2 separate regions of the Homo sapiens genome follow, and region 1 is linked to region 2. The links are contacts of gene promoters, found by promoter capture Hi-C in human tissues and cell types (Jung and others, 2019). All regions are on one chromosome and are shown on one strand. The core of a region is centred on a gene start or on the middle of the fragment in contact, and the rest is flanking DNA. Distances in the headings are between cores, read along the strand shown.

Region 1 (5,976 bases), core at 290-2,789, 1.9 Mb after region 2:
TCTCTAGCCATTACCTTTATCCTTTCTCTTTTCACACAGATTTTTTGTTTGTTTGTTTCCTACTCTTAGAGCACTGGTTTTCAACACGGGCACTTTTGCCTGTCCTCACCCCACCCTGCCCCCACCCCCTGGGACATTTGTCGATGTCTGGAACCCTACTTGGTTGTCACAGCTGGGATCAGGGTGCTACTGGCATGTGGTGGTAGATTCCAGGGATGCTGCTAAATGTCACACAATGTGCAGGACAGCCCCCCTTACTAAAGGGTTTTCACCCCAAAGTGTCAGTAGTGCTGAGGCTGAGAAACTGTTTGGAGGAAAGTTTGGAGACTCAGCGCAAGTTTCCTTTTACTTCCCCAGCCTTTAAAATGGTTACCTTGTTATCTCTCGCGCTCTCTCTTTCTCTCTCTCTCCCCCCCCCCAACCTCTCCCTCTCTCTTTCTCCTTCTCTGTCTCTGAGTGTGTATATGTGTTTGCAGCAGCACTAGGGTAAAACTTGGGCTTCACTGGCAGGACCCTTGCATCACTTTCCTAGTAAAATAGTGAGAGTAAATAAATCACTTTGAATACATAATATGCCATTTTAAAGGGAATCAGCTTATTGCTTTCATAGGAGCATGGGTGCCCCAGATTCTTACAAATGCTTTCTGAGTTTTAGAGCTCAGAGCCGTTTTGCAGCAAGTAAAAAGATGGATGGTCATCTTTCAAGCAAGAAAGATAAATTTTATGGCAGCAGTTTTTAAATTGTGCTGGCAAAGAACAGCTAGCACAGAGTGATCTATTGATAAAAGAATTGTGGGGACTCCTTCCAGATTTGCAGTGAAACAAATGGTAATTGATGAATAGAATTCTCTCTCCCATTTTTTTTTCCTTGAACTTTGGTGCCTTGTGGTGCTTATTTATTAGTGAGAATTCTCAAGTCACAAAAGGAATAAACTTGTATAAGAGACTAGTGGTGAACAACCTGGCAATCAGAGGCTCACACTTGCTGAGTTTCCCAGCCTGCTTTTCCATGCACTCATGCTGGGGGTTCTGGTGCTATGCTGCAAACCCATGGTACACAGTTTTTTTCTTGTTAGTGTCAAGCTCTTTAGTATACTGATACTTCAGTGTTTTCCACAAAGCACACTGACTTCAGGGTGTCCCTTGGAAAAAATGAAATTGTGTAGGTCACATTTAGCTTTGTGACAGAGTATAAAATAAAAAGTACATCCCTTCCTGGTCAGTTCTCTGGTCCATCAAATGCCATCACTTGAGTTTTAGCAAAGCTCCACACCTCTGAGGGAGAAAGTTGATAGAATCATGAAGTTTTAGACTTGGAAGCAGACTTGGATGTGGTGTGAGTAGTTCCTAGCCTTTCAGGATGTGGGAACTGAGTTCACCCACTAGCTAGAGGTTGAGGGAGCAGAACCAGAATTCTGACTTCCACTGACTGTGAACTCTGTGTACCCCTGCACTGCTGGTGCACAAACTGGGTCCTGGGCCTGGGTGGCCTTATCAGTACAAGCAATGAAACGACAGGTCTCAACATAACACGTACATGGGCAGAGGGGACGTGCTGAAACGTGTAACATTTTTTCCTCTGAGACTGTGGTGCTGAATTGGAGTGAAAATAAGGTCATCTGCAGCTAGCTTCACGTTTGTGCCATTGCTCCTCAGGCTTAGGTGTTTTTGGAAGTCTTTCTTAAAACACATTCCTTTCAGACTGTTTCAACACGTATATCAACACATGTGGATCTCTCTCCAGTAAGCTTTGAGCTGATGTTTACCACATCTTACCAAGTTTGGTAAAAGTGAAGTGTAAGAATTACAATAAATTTTCCATGAGGACTAATTGAGGAATAAAAATACATGGGATAATTATGAACTCCATATTTTGGACCTGAATCACATTTGCTGCACAGTTATTGTTAGTTTAGGTAAAGGGGCTGGGAATACAGGATTAAGTACAAAGGTTATAGGACTAGGTTCATGCCGTCAGAGAACTTAGCTGCTTATAGAGAAGCTGTTTTAAGTTGTACTGATGAGGAAAGTTCACTGGGAGCTGAGAGAGAGGTGAGATCATTGTGTATGAAAGTGTAAGTAGAAAGATTTCATTTATTCATCCTTTTATTTGTTGTCAGCAATTAAGCATCTACAAATTTGATTTTCTAACTCCATGCCACATATTGTACAAGTCATTTGTATATAGTGGAAAACAAAGTGATATGATAATGGTAAAAAAATTGTAAAAGGCCATGTGGTCCCTTCCTTTACGGAACTTTTATTGCCACAGAGGAGGCAGATATTATTCAATAAACACTGGTAAATATGAAATTAAAAATTACAGTAGGCCAGACATGGTGGCATGTGCCTGTAATCCCAGCACTTTGGGAGGCCGTGGTAGACAGATAGCTTGAGCTCAGGAGTTCAAGACCAGCCTGGGCAACAGGCGAAACCCTGTCTCTCCAAAAAGTACAAAAATTAGCCGGGCGTGGTGGCACACACCTGTGGTTCCAGCTACTTCGGAGGCTGAGGTGGGAAGATCACCTGAGCCAAGAGGTCAAGGTGTGGTGAGCCGAGATTGTGCCACTGCCCTCTGGCCTGGGCTACAGAGTGAGACCCTGTGTCCAAAAAAAAAAAAAAATTATTGTATAAATGCTAAAGAGAAATAGATAGGTGTATGAGAGGGAATAATGGGTGTGACCAGGCAGGAAGAATAAAATGCAGAAGGCGCTATAGTTGGAAAGAGCTGAGGGTACACTTGAAAGTCTGACAGATCTTGTTTGCAGCTAGAGAGCCAGGAGGAGAGCGGGATGGAGGAGGTGGAGAGGCAGGGGCCAGGTAGGCAGAGGCCGAGTCTGCCTTGTGTAGCTATAGTGCCTTACAGACCAAGGTAAGGGGTTTAGATTTTATTCCAAGAGTCATGGGGGCTGTTATAGGCTTTAAACAGAGTCCTGGTATGATCTTGTGAAAATGTGAAGTGGTTATTCTGGGCACTGAATAGTGAGTAGAATGGAGGCAGAGACCAGTCAGGAGGCTTTTGTGATGGACTGGGTAAAAGGGATGGTGGAGGGAGGTGGAGAAGTGGATGGATTTAAGATGTGTCTGGAGGTAGACTCTTGACAGAACTTGCTAATGGATTGATTTGTGGCAAGACACTGGAGCAGAGAACGTTGAGGAGAGCATCCAGAATAACTCCCACCTGTTTTCCTGAGCAACTGGGTGATTGCTGGGGCTGTATACCTATTTGAGGAGAAGGAGTTTTGGGGGAGTCAGGAATTCAGGTTCAGATATGTTAAATAGTACACTCAGGAGATGTCTAGTAGGCAGCTGGGTAAGGAACTCAGAAGATAAGATAAACATTTTGGAGGCGTCACCACTGGATGGTATTTAAAGCCATGGGCTATAGACTTAGAATGGGATTTGAAGATAAATAAAACATTGATAGTTAAGGGGAAGAGAGACGACATTCTAAGTTGCTAGGGAAATATTCTGAGCAGAGGTATAGATATAGCATGGTCTGGGGACAGAGAGCCTTGATTTGGAGCAGATTCTCGGCCTTGGCACTCTTGCTATTTTGGGCTGGCTAATTCTTTGTTGTTGGGGGCTGTCCTGGCACTGTAGGATGTTTAGCAGAATCCCTGGCCTTCACCCACTAGATGTGGTTGTACTCCCCCCTACTCCAAGTCATGACAATTAAAAATGTCTCCAGATACTGCCAAATGTCCCTCGGCAGCAAAATTGAGAACCACTGATTTGGAATGAAGGGGAGATAAATTTAGATAACTGGGGAGAGGAGAGGGGGCACATTATGGATGGCTTTGAGAGTCTGTCACAACAGTTTAGCCTTGAGGCTGCAATCAGTAGTGATTCAATTGAGCCTTCTTGAGTTGTGCAGAGAGATTGATTTGATGAAAACGATTTTAGAAAAATGGGTCTGATGGTGAGTGAAAATGAATCAAATGGAGGAGAAAATAAATACAGCGAGAAAACAATCACAGGAATGAAGTGAGGAAAAGGAGGAGGAAAGGTGAATCCAAGTGACATTTTGGAGGACATTGGACATTATTAAGAAAACTACAAGAGGCGTAGTGGTAAAGGGAATACTGAGGTTTCAGGCCAAGGTGATAAAGAAATAATAGGGATATTTGATATAAATTTAATAGCTGATAGAAATTGAGCACTTAGAAAGGGAAGTGGTTTGTGGAGCATGAGGAGCAGAAAGATTGTGCATTTAATTTGAATATATGGGGTTGGGAGCCATAGGATATGACCTTCCCACTTAAGAGAGGAAGCCTTAATAGACAGTTGGAAATCAGGTGCAATTTAGGACTAGCTGTATAGACTTGGATTCAGCTGCATAGAGGTGATAATTGAAGCCAGGAGCATATTTAGAAGGTCTGAGGCCCATGACTAAGCCTTTGAGGGAAACTAAAAATGAGAGGACAGGAGGAGAGAGAGGACCTCTTAAGGGGCAGTCAGAGAGGTAGCAGGAAAACCAGGAAGGCAGAGTCATGACACCTGGTTTGCTTTACAGTTTGACTACCTGCTCTTAGCGCTGAATACAGCGTAGAGCTGCAGAAATATCAGTTTATTTTACTTTATTTTTTATTTCGAGACAGAGTCTTGCTCTGTTGCCCAGGCTGCAGTGCAGTGGTGTGATTAGCGTGATCTCGGCTCACTGCAATCTCTGCCTCCTAGGTTCAAGTGATTCTCCTGCCTCAGCCTCCTGAGTAGCTGGGATTACAGGTGGGCATCACTGTGCCCAGCTAATTTTTGTATTTTAGTAGAGATGGGGTTTCACCATGTTGGCCAGGGTGGTCTCGAACTCCTGACCTCAGGTGGTCCACCCGCCTCGGCCTCCCAAAGTGTTGCGATTACAGGCGTGAGCCACCGTGCCTAGCCTGAATTATCAATTTATGCCCATTAAGAAACAAATCAGGTTGGTATTTTGCAGACAGGATATATAGATTTATTAAGTCTACAGATTTATTTAGCACATTTTCTGTGCTGGTCCTGCATTAGAAGGCACTGGGGATATGAAGATGAGTGAAGTGGCCCATGCCCTCAAGGAATTCAGGGTTTAGAAGGGAAGACAAATGGGTATAAAAATAATTGCAATAGGATAGGACGAGTGCTGTGCAAACCTGGGGGTGAGGTCACCTGAGGGAGGAATGGGGCCTGTGAGGTGACTGAAGAAACAATACCTGCTCCGTGTCTTGAAGGATTTGGTAGGAATTTTCTAGGTGGATAGTGGAAAGGTGGGAAAGTCCTTTGCAGGGCAGCAAACCCTGTAAGTGCAAGGGTTTGGAACCTCAAACAACATGGCTTCTTCAGAAAATTTCAAGGTCTAGGGTGGTTGTAGCAGAAGGGTACAAGGTACAAGGTAGAATGGGAGGAGGCCCACTGAGTGATGGTTTGAGCAGGGCTGGATCTGGAAGTCCTTCGGTGCCATGTTGCAGAATGGCATTCTGCAGAGGTAGGCACCAAATAATTTTAGACAAGCTTGTGGTATGATTGTCTTTTTTCTTTTATTTTTAAAAGAATGGTCACTCAGACTAGGGACATGGAGGATGGGTTGAGTGATGATGAGAGAGGGGAAGGGACAGAACCTGGTTCAGGACAAACAGTATGTATCTTAGCCTCTTTGAAACTGGTTACATTTGGGAAACTGAAGCAATTTAGAACTGTTCAAAGATGATAACTTCTATTTTAGACATGTTTTATTTGTGGTCCCATGGTAATTCATGAGGGGAAATATTTGGTAGTTTAGGATAGAGTTTTGGCTAGAGATTTCTATTTGTTATAACACTCCAATTCTGAGATTTTTAAAAAATGTCTTCCCAACCAACGATGTAAACTAGCACTAAATCTGTCATTCTGATTTGACCTAGTTTGGTTCTTTACACATTTGCAGGGGCAGAGCTTCAACTTGAACTTAGGGCAGTGTGACATACATGCTCTTACTCTGGAACACGTTGCCCTAAGGTGCCATTG
Region 2 (6,265 bases), core at 1,576-4,075:
ATTTGAAATATCTCCAATTCTAGTACCATAATAGTATCTACCATTCTAGGCTCAGCCACAGGGGCAGTTAGACTTTGTTGTCCTCTGAGTCATTTCAATTCTTCTATCAGATTTTTTTTTCTTTCATGGATGCAAGACATCTGTCTTTTTCCTCTATGGTTTGCTATGAAATTTCTTTCTTTCTTTCTTAAGGTTTTAGTATAATAATTCCTCTGGAAGCTCTGAACTTCCTTTAAGTTTTTTTTTAAAAAAATTGCTTTCTCTCTTATAAGTTGTGTCAATTGCTTCTGCTCTTCTCAACTAGATGACAAAATCAAATCAGTCTCTGATTGTCTTCTTGGAGGGATCTAATGGTTGCATCTTTTTCCTGCAGCGATTTTCTTAGCTCTTCAATCTCTTGGAGTAAATTTAGGAGCACTTTTTCTTTAGTTTCTTTATGGTCAGTGTCCATCTGTTTAATATTCTTTTTTTTTTTTTGAGACAGTAACCTTGTCACGTTGTCTCTGTCACCTTGACTGGACCACCCTGTCACCTAGGCTGGACCACCCTGCAGAGGCCAGATCTCAGCTCACTGCAACCTCTGCCTCCAAGGTTCAAGCGATTGTCTCGTCTCAGCTTCCCCAGCAGCTGGGATTACAGGCGCCCGCCACCACGCCTGACTAATTTTTGTATTTTTAGTAGAGACTGGGTTTCACCATGTTGGCCAGGCTGGTCTTGAACTCCTGACCTCAGGTGATCCACCTACCTCGACCTCCCAAAGTGCTGGGATTACAGGTGTGATGCATTGCACCCAGCCTCAATATTCTTTTTGAGTGCTGACATTTCAGAGTCTTTCTCGTGGCTGAGTTTAATTACACACTCTTGCTCTAGCTGTAAGGCAGAGCTCTCCAGGTTAGCTTCAGTGGACAATCTTTTCATGGTTTTCTCAGAGTTGTTTCTTCCAATAGCCTCTTTTCAGCTAGGGGTCTCACTCTGTCACCCAGACAAGAGTGCAATGGTGTGATAATAGCTCACTGCAGCCTCAAATTCCTGGGCTCAAATGATCCTGTTGCCTCAGCCTTTCAACTAGTTGGGAGTACAGGTGCATGCCACTGCTTCTGGCCTTTTTTTTTTTTTTAAATTTTTCATAGAGATGAGGTTTTAGTATGTTGTCCAGGCTAGTCTCATACTCCTGAGCTCAAGTGATCTTCCCATCTTGACCTCCCAAAGTGCTAGGATTACAGGTGTGAGCCACTGCACCTGGCCCCAGAAGATAATTTTTTATTTGTCTTTTACTCTATGTTCAAATTCTTCAATTTTTTGGTAGACTCTACTTTTTCAATTTGTAGAGCTTGCATGAATAGTGTTTTCCTTCTCTTGAAGTTTAGAGAGATCATGTACTGTAATTCCTGAGCCACCTTGCTGTAACAAATTTTCCAGTTCTTCAATCTTTTCTTCCTAATTGCTTAGATTTTCTTGATGCTTACAACTTATTTCCCTCAATTTCTGTTGATGAACATTCTGTAATACTGATAATTCAAGCTGATGGTCATCAGTATCCTGACTTCTTTTTTGTTTGAGCTCCTTGATGATATTAATATTTGGTGTTTGTAGTTTGTAGATTTCATTTTCATCAAAACTAGTTGTTCCTCCTATTTTATAAGTCTGAGCAATACATTTCCAATGGCCAACTGGAGACTCAAGTTTTAGAACTTCATTGGACTATCTGTTTATTTCTTGTTATGATGAAATTATGTCATAAAAACCCATGTAAGCGTCGTGGAACACTGAAGCATGATGGGTACCACATGGAATGGAGGGGATGCAGTGTGGATGGGAACCTCCGGCCTTCCCTGAATGTGCTGACTCCAGGGCTGGCTGCCGGTCCTGCAACCGATCCTGTAGTGCTTGCTTTCTTGTTTTAGGAAGGCTCATTTCTACCTCTTTCTGTTGTAATTGATGTCGATAACTTTTAGTTTGCTGCCCTATCTGAAGCTCTGATGCTTCCTAGGTCTCTCCTAGGTCACTAAAAAGATCTTGAAGTCCCTCATTCTTTGATATTAAGAATTCCAAACTGGCATCAGTCTCCTTTATCCCATAGTTAGGGAGCTCTTTCCTTTTTCTATGACATTTAGGAGCACATTTGAGATGTGGCTGATGAAAGAAGCCACATTGCTGCCCATCCAATGCAAAGAAGGGGCTTACCTGGAGCCAAGGCCACCAAACCAGGAAGACATGAGTGTGTGAGCACGTGTGTTAAGGAAAACACACATTGACTTTAATTTTTTTTTTTTTTTTTTTTTTCGAGACAGGGTCTCTCACTCTGTTGCCCAGGCTGGAGTGCAGTGGCGCCATCTCGGCTCACTGCAACCTCTGCCTTTCGGGTAAAAGCCGTTCTCCTGCTTCAGCCTCCTGAGTAGCTGGGATTACAGGCGTCCACCACCACGCCCAGCTAAATTTGTATTGTTAGTAGAGACAGGATTTCACCGTGTTGGCCAGGCTGCTCTCGAACTCCCGAGCTCAAGTGATCTGCCCCCTCGGCCTCCCAAAGTGCTGAGATTACAACGTTGAACCACTGCGCCCTGCTAGAAACAGCTTTTCATACGTTGAAATAAACGAGAGGGTGACCGGGCAGCGTTGGGGTCGGGGAGGCCAGGCGGAGGAGGCCTAGTGGTCTTCTCGCCCGGGGCCTTCTAGCTCTTCGCCCGTGTCAGGTAAGGCACTGTTAGCCTCGGCTCGGTTCGACTCGGCTCTACTCGGGCTCAGCTCGGCTCGGCCAGACCTAGAGGGCGGGCGGGCGGTGCCACTGGAAGTGACGAGGCGAGGGCGGGGCCGCCGGCCCGGGGAGCCACCGCCGCGCCGCCGTTTGGGCCGGGAAGCGATGTAGTAGCTGCCAGGCTGTCCCCCGCCCTGCCCGGCCCGAGCCCCGCGGGCCGCCGCCGCCACCGCCGCCATGAAGAAGCAGTTCAACCGCATGAAGCAGCTGGCTAACCAGACCGTGGGCAGGCGAGTGCGCCGGGCAGCACGGGGGTCGCACCGGGGCTGGGGGCGGAGGGCGGAGGGCGCGGGGGCGGGACGGCTCCTCCGCGGTCCGGCGGCTCTGAGCTGGGCCGCAGCCCCTGCCCGAGACCAGCGGGGCACGGGCCCGGGGGCTGCGCCGCGCTGAGGCCCGAGCGCCGCGCTCCAGGCGGCCCGCCTGTCTCTCAGCGCCGCCGGGCTCCCGAGACCTGCAGGGGAGGGCCGCCGCCTCCTCCGCCACACCGCGGGGTCCCCTGCCCATTGTCCCTGCCCCGGGAGCATCGCCCTCGGGGAGTAGACCCGGTCCTTCTCCTCCCTTCCCGGGGGCCGAGCCAGCTGGGATCGCTGCCCTGGGCTCAACAACGGTGACTTCTGTCCCTAACGCTGTGCCGAGCGCTGTGCTGTGGGGGGCGGCAGTCCCAGGCTTTCCCGGTGCTCCCGCTGTTTGCGAGTCCTTCTCCTGTAAGTGCATGGCGGCAAGAAATGGCTAGAGGGACATGAAAGCCAGCCGGATTTGCTCAGTGAGTTCAGAACGCCCTTTGAGGGAATTCGGAGGTGGTGCTGTCTCAAAACCAGGGCTCCTAGGAACTGGACTGCTGCTGCCAGTTCTTGACATTTAGAAATTAGGAATTGGCGGAAAAGGATTATGGAGACGCCTTGCGCCAATTTAAAAAGTCTCACCTTAGGTTTGGAAACAAATGCTTCTTTATCTTCCTTTGCTACGGTTGAAGTGCTTAACAAGAAACGTTATTGATTATTAAATGGCAGGCTAGACCAGAGTTGGTAGATCAGGTTGTCAGAACAAGAAATGATTTGTGGTTTTTGAGAGTTTCTGGAGGTGACTGTCATGTGCTGTATTATCTGGGGCTAATATTTCAAGGTCTTTCAGGGCAGCTGGCTGTACTGTACCGATTTAGTGTTTATTCAGCAAAGAGATACGAAAGTATGAATTTCTCACAGCTCTTCTTTTGATTTTCTGTTTTTAACAGTTAAGGGGAGTTTGGTTTGGCTGAAGCACGTGGGACACTTCTTTTTTTTGAGTGTATGAAAATACTTTTACTTCCTCTCGAGTTTTCTAAATTTGCTTTTTACTGTTTCATTTCCTCCATCTTTTTGCTTAGTTTCCTTGTTTAATTTTTTCGATTCCCTACCGTATTATTGTGGTGAGAATTAACTCTTATTTTCAGGGTTAATCGCTGCCCCTAAAGCCCAGACAAACCTACTTTTCTGTTATTTGCAGGAAAATTAAAGAAATAATGCTGAGAGGAAGGTAGACGTGTGGTAATGGCGGCTGATGTTTCAAGGAACAGTTTACAAGCACATGATAATTTCTTGTGAGTTTCGTACCCTTGTTAGTGTTCTGAGCAACGTGCATTGTGGAACTAGTATTTAGTAAGTGCCAAGATACATTTGTCAAATAGTCGTTTGGCTTGTTTTTACATTGTTCGTGACAGGTAAGGGACTTTCACTCTTTTTATACAAAGTTCTGAGACTTAAATCTACCAAGCTATTTAGGGTCTCTTTGACTCCTGGGTCATCTTAGAGGCTTCTCCCTTCACACTTTTTTTTTTTTTTGAGACAGGGTCTCCCTTTGTCACCCAAGCTGGGGTGCAGTGGTGCGATCTTGTCTCATTGCAGCCTTGACTTCCCTGGGCTCAAGCGACCCTCTCGCCTCAGCCACCTATGTGGTTGGAACTACAGGTGGGCACCACCACATCCGCTAATTTTTGTATTTTTTGTAGAGTGGGGATTTGCCATGTTGCCTAGGGTGGTCTCGAACTCCTGGCCTCAACTGATCTGCCTGCCTTGGCCTCCCAAAGTTCTGGGACTACAAGCGTGAGCCACCTTGCCTGGCACCTTCACATTTTAAAATTCCGGCCATGCTTGCCTACCTTCAGTTTCCACAGGAGGTCTTGCTTTCTTACCTGCTAGCATCTACTTGGAACTCCTGGAAGCCTCTCCCACCACACCTTTTCTCCAGGCACCTCTTGCTCATTCTTCAGCCTTCTGGGAAAGGTCCCTCTGCCTCTGAAAGGCCTTCTATGATGCTACAGCATAGATTGGATGCCTCTCCTGGGCGTTCTTGTAATCCTGTGTAGCACTTGCTTTTCTGTGCTGTGACTGCCTCTTGTGTGTGTTCTCCATCAGATAAATACCTTGAGAGTCCTTGCTGTGTCTCCTTTGATTCCCAGGGTCTGCTGTGGTTCCTACCCCATGGCCAGGGTGCAGTAGACATTGTTAATTCTGGTATTTGAGTTCTTACTAGATCGCCTTGGTGGTGTGGGCCCGAGTATGGGAAAACATGAAGTGGATAGAGTAGATGGTGATTCATGCTGGAGCTGTAATTCTGGGCCTGACCTTTGACTGTCTTTAAAAATCTTTATTGCTAGATGCCAGTGGAAGCTGAAGCTATTACAGAACTATTAAGGGTGTGGCAATTATGCACCCAAAGTCAGAACATCTGTTTTTAACTGGGAAACCTGTTGCTTCCTTGCTGTTGATTTCCTAGATGTGTGTGTGTATGTGTTTTCTGCTTAAGTAATCAGAAAGGACTAAGGAAGATAAACGGAGGCTGGAGAGTGCCTAGAATTGTTACTGCTTGGAAGTAGGTGGTTGGTTGGCCCCAGAATCAGGATTCTGGGTGTTTTTAGGTCAAGATGAAGGCTACAAAGCAAAGGGTTTTTTTGTTTTCGCCCCTGCGATCTAGGTGGAGAAGGAAGTTATATATGTGAATGTCATGCCCATCGTGTTTTGGTTTATCAATTTGTGGAATTCTAGGTGGTGTCTTGCAGTGAGATATTCTCCTCAGAAGGGAGACCTTTGAGTACTTTCACTGTAAGGTTCCAGGGGAGGGACTTGTAGAGAATTAGTAATGCCTGGAAGGAATGAGTTCGCATGATGCAGTTTGTTTACGATGGGTGGGTAAGTCTATTTGAGAAGACGGCCTGAAACTCACAGGGGCAAGGCTTATGAGGTGGTCTCATGGTGTGAGTGTCCCAAAGAAGAGAAGTAGGATGGTTCTTTTAGTCCACCTGCCTTTTGTTGATTCATGCATTCAACAGACACTTGTTGAGCCTACACTGTGTCCTGTTATCCAGGGTATTAAAGAATCAAAGGTGAATACGGGCATGGTTTCTGCCCTGAGGGAGCTCAGGAGATACGTGGAAGAGGTAGGCAGGCAAAAAATAATTATATACATGAGATAAGTGCTTAAGAGGGATGGCTAATGCACAGAGCAAAACCCAGCTGTCATTGGATTGAGGGAGGT

Evidence for each region. Contacts are between HindIII fragments. The study calls those that stand out against the background at their distance.
Region 1: a fragment that was not itself captured here is called in contact with the fragment with the promoter of ARHGAP17 in region 2 in 1 of the 25 tissues and cell types used here (dorsolateral prefrontal cortex).

What each region holds. Positions count from the first base shown.
Region 1 is chr16:23,138,029-23,144,004 of GRCh38, reverse strand. All of the region lies in intron 1 of USP31 (ubiquitin specific peptidase 31), which reads left to right. Among named protein-coding and RNA genes, the nearest start is that of USP31, 8.4 kb to the left of the region's middle. The HindIII fragment of the contact is 4,155 bases long and covers 1-3,616 here.
Region 2 is chr16:25,011,929-25,018,193 of GRCh38, reverse strand. ARHGAP17 (Rho GTPase activating protein 17) reads left to right here and starts at 2,825. Exons shown (of 20, transcript NM_001006634.3): 1 at 2,825-2,985. The coding sequence starts at 2,933. It also overlaps the pseudogene LOC100421171. RefSeq lists silencers at 2,687-2,936, 3,017-3,066, 3,127-3,176, 3,237-3,286 and enhancers at 2,600-3,268, 3,269-3,937. The HindIII fragment of the contact is 28,450 bases long and covers 1-6,265 here.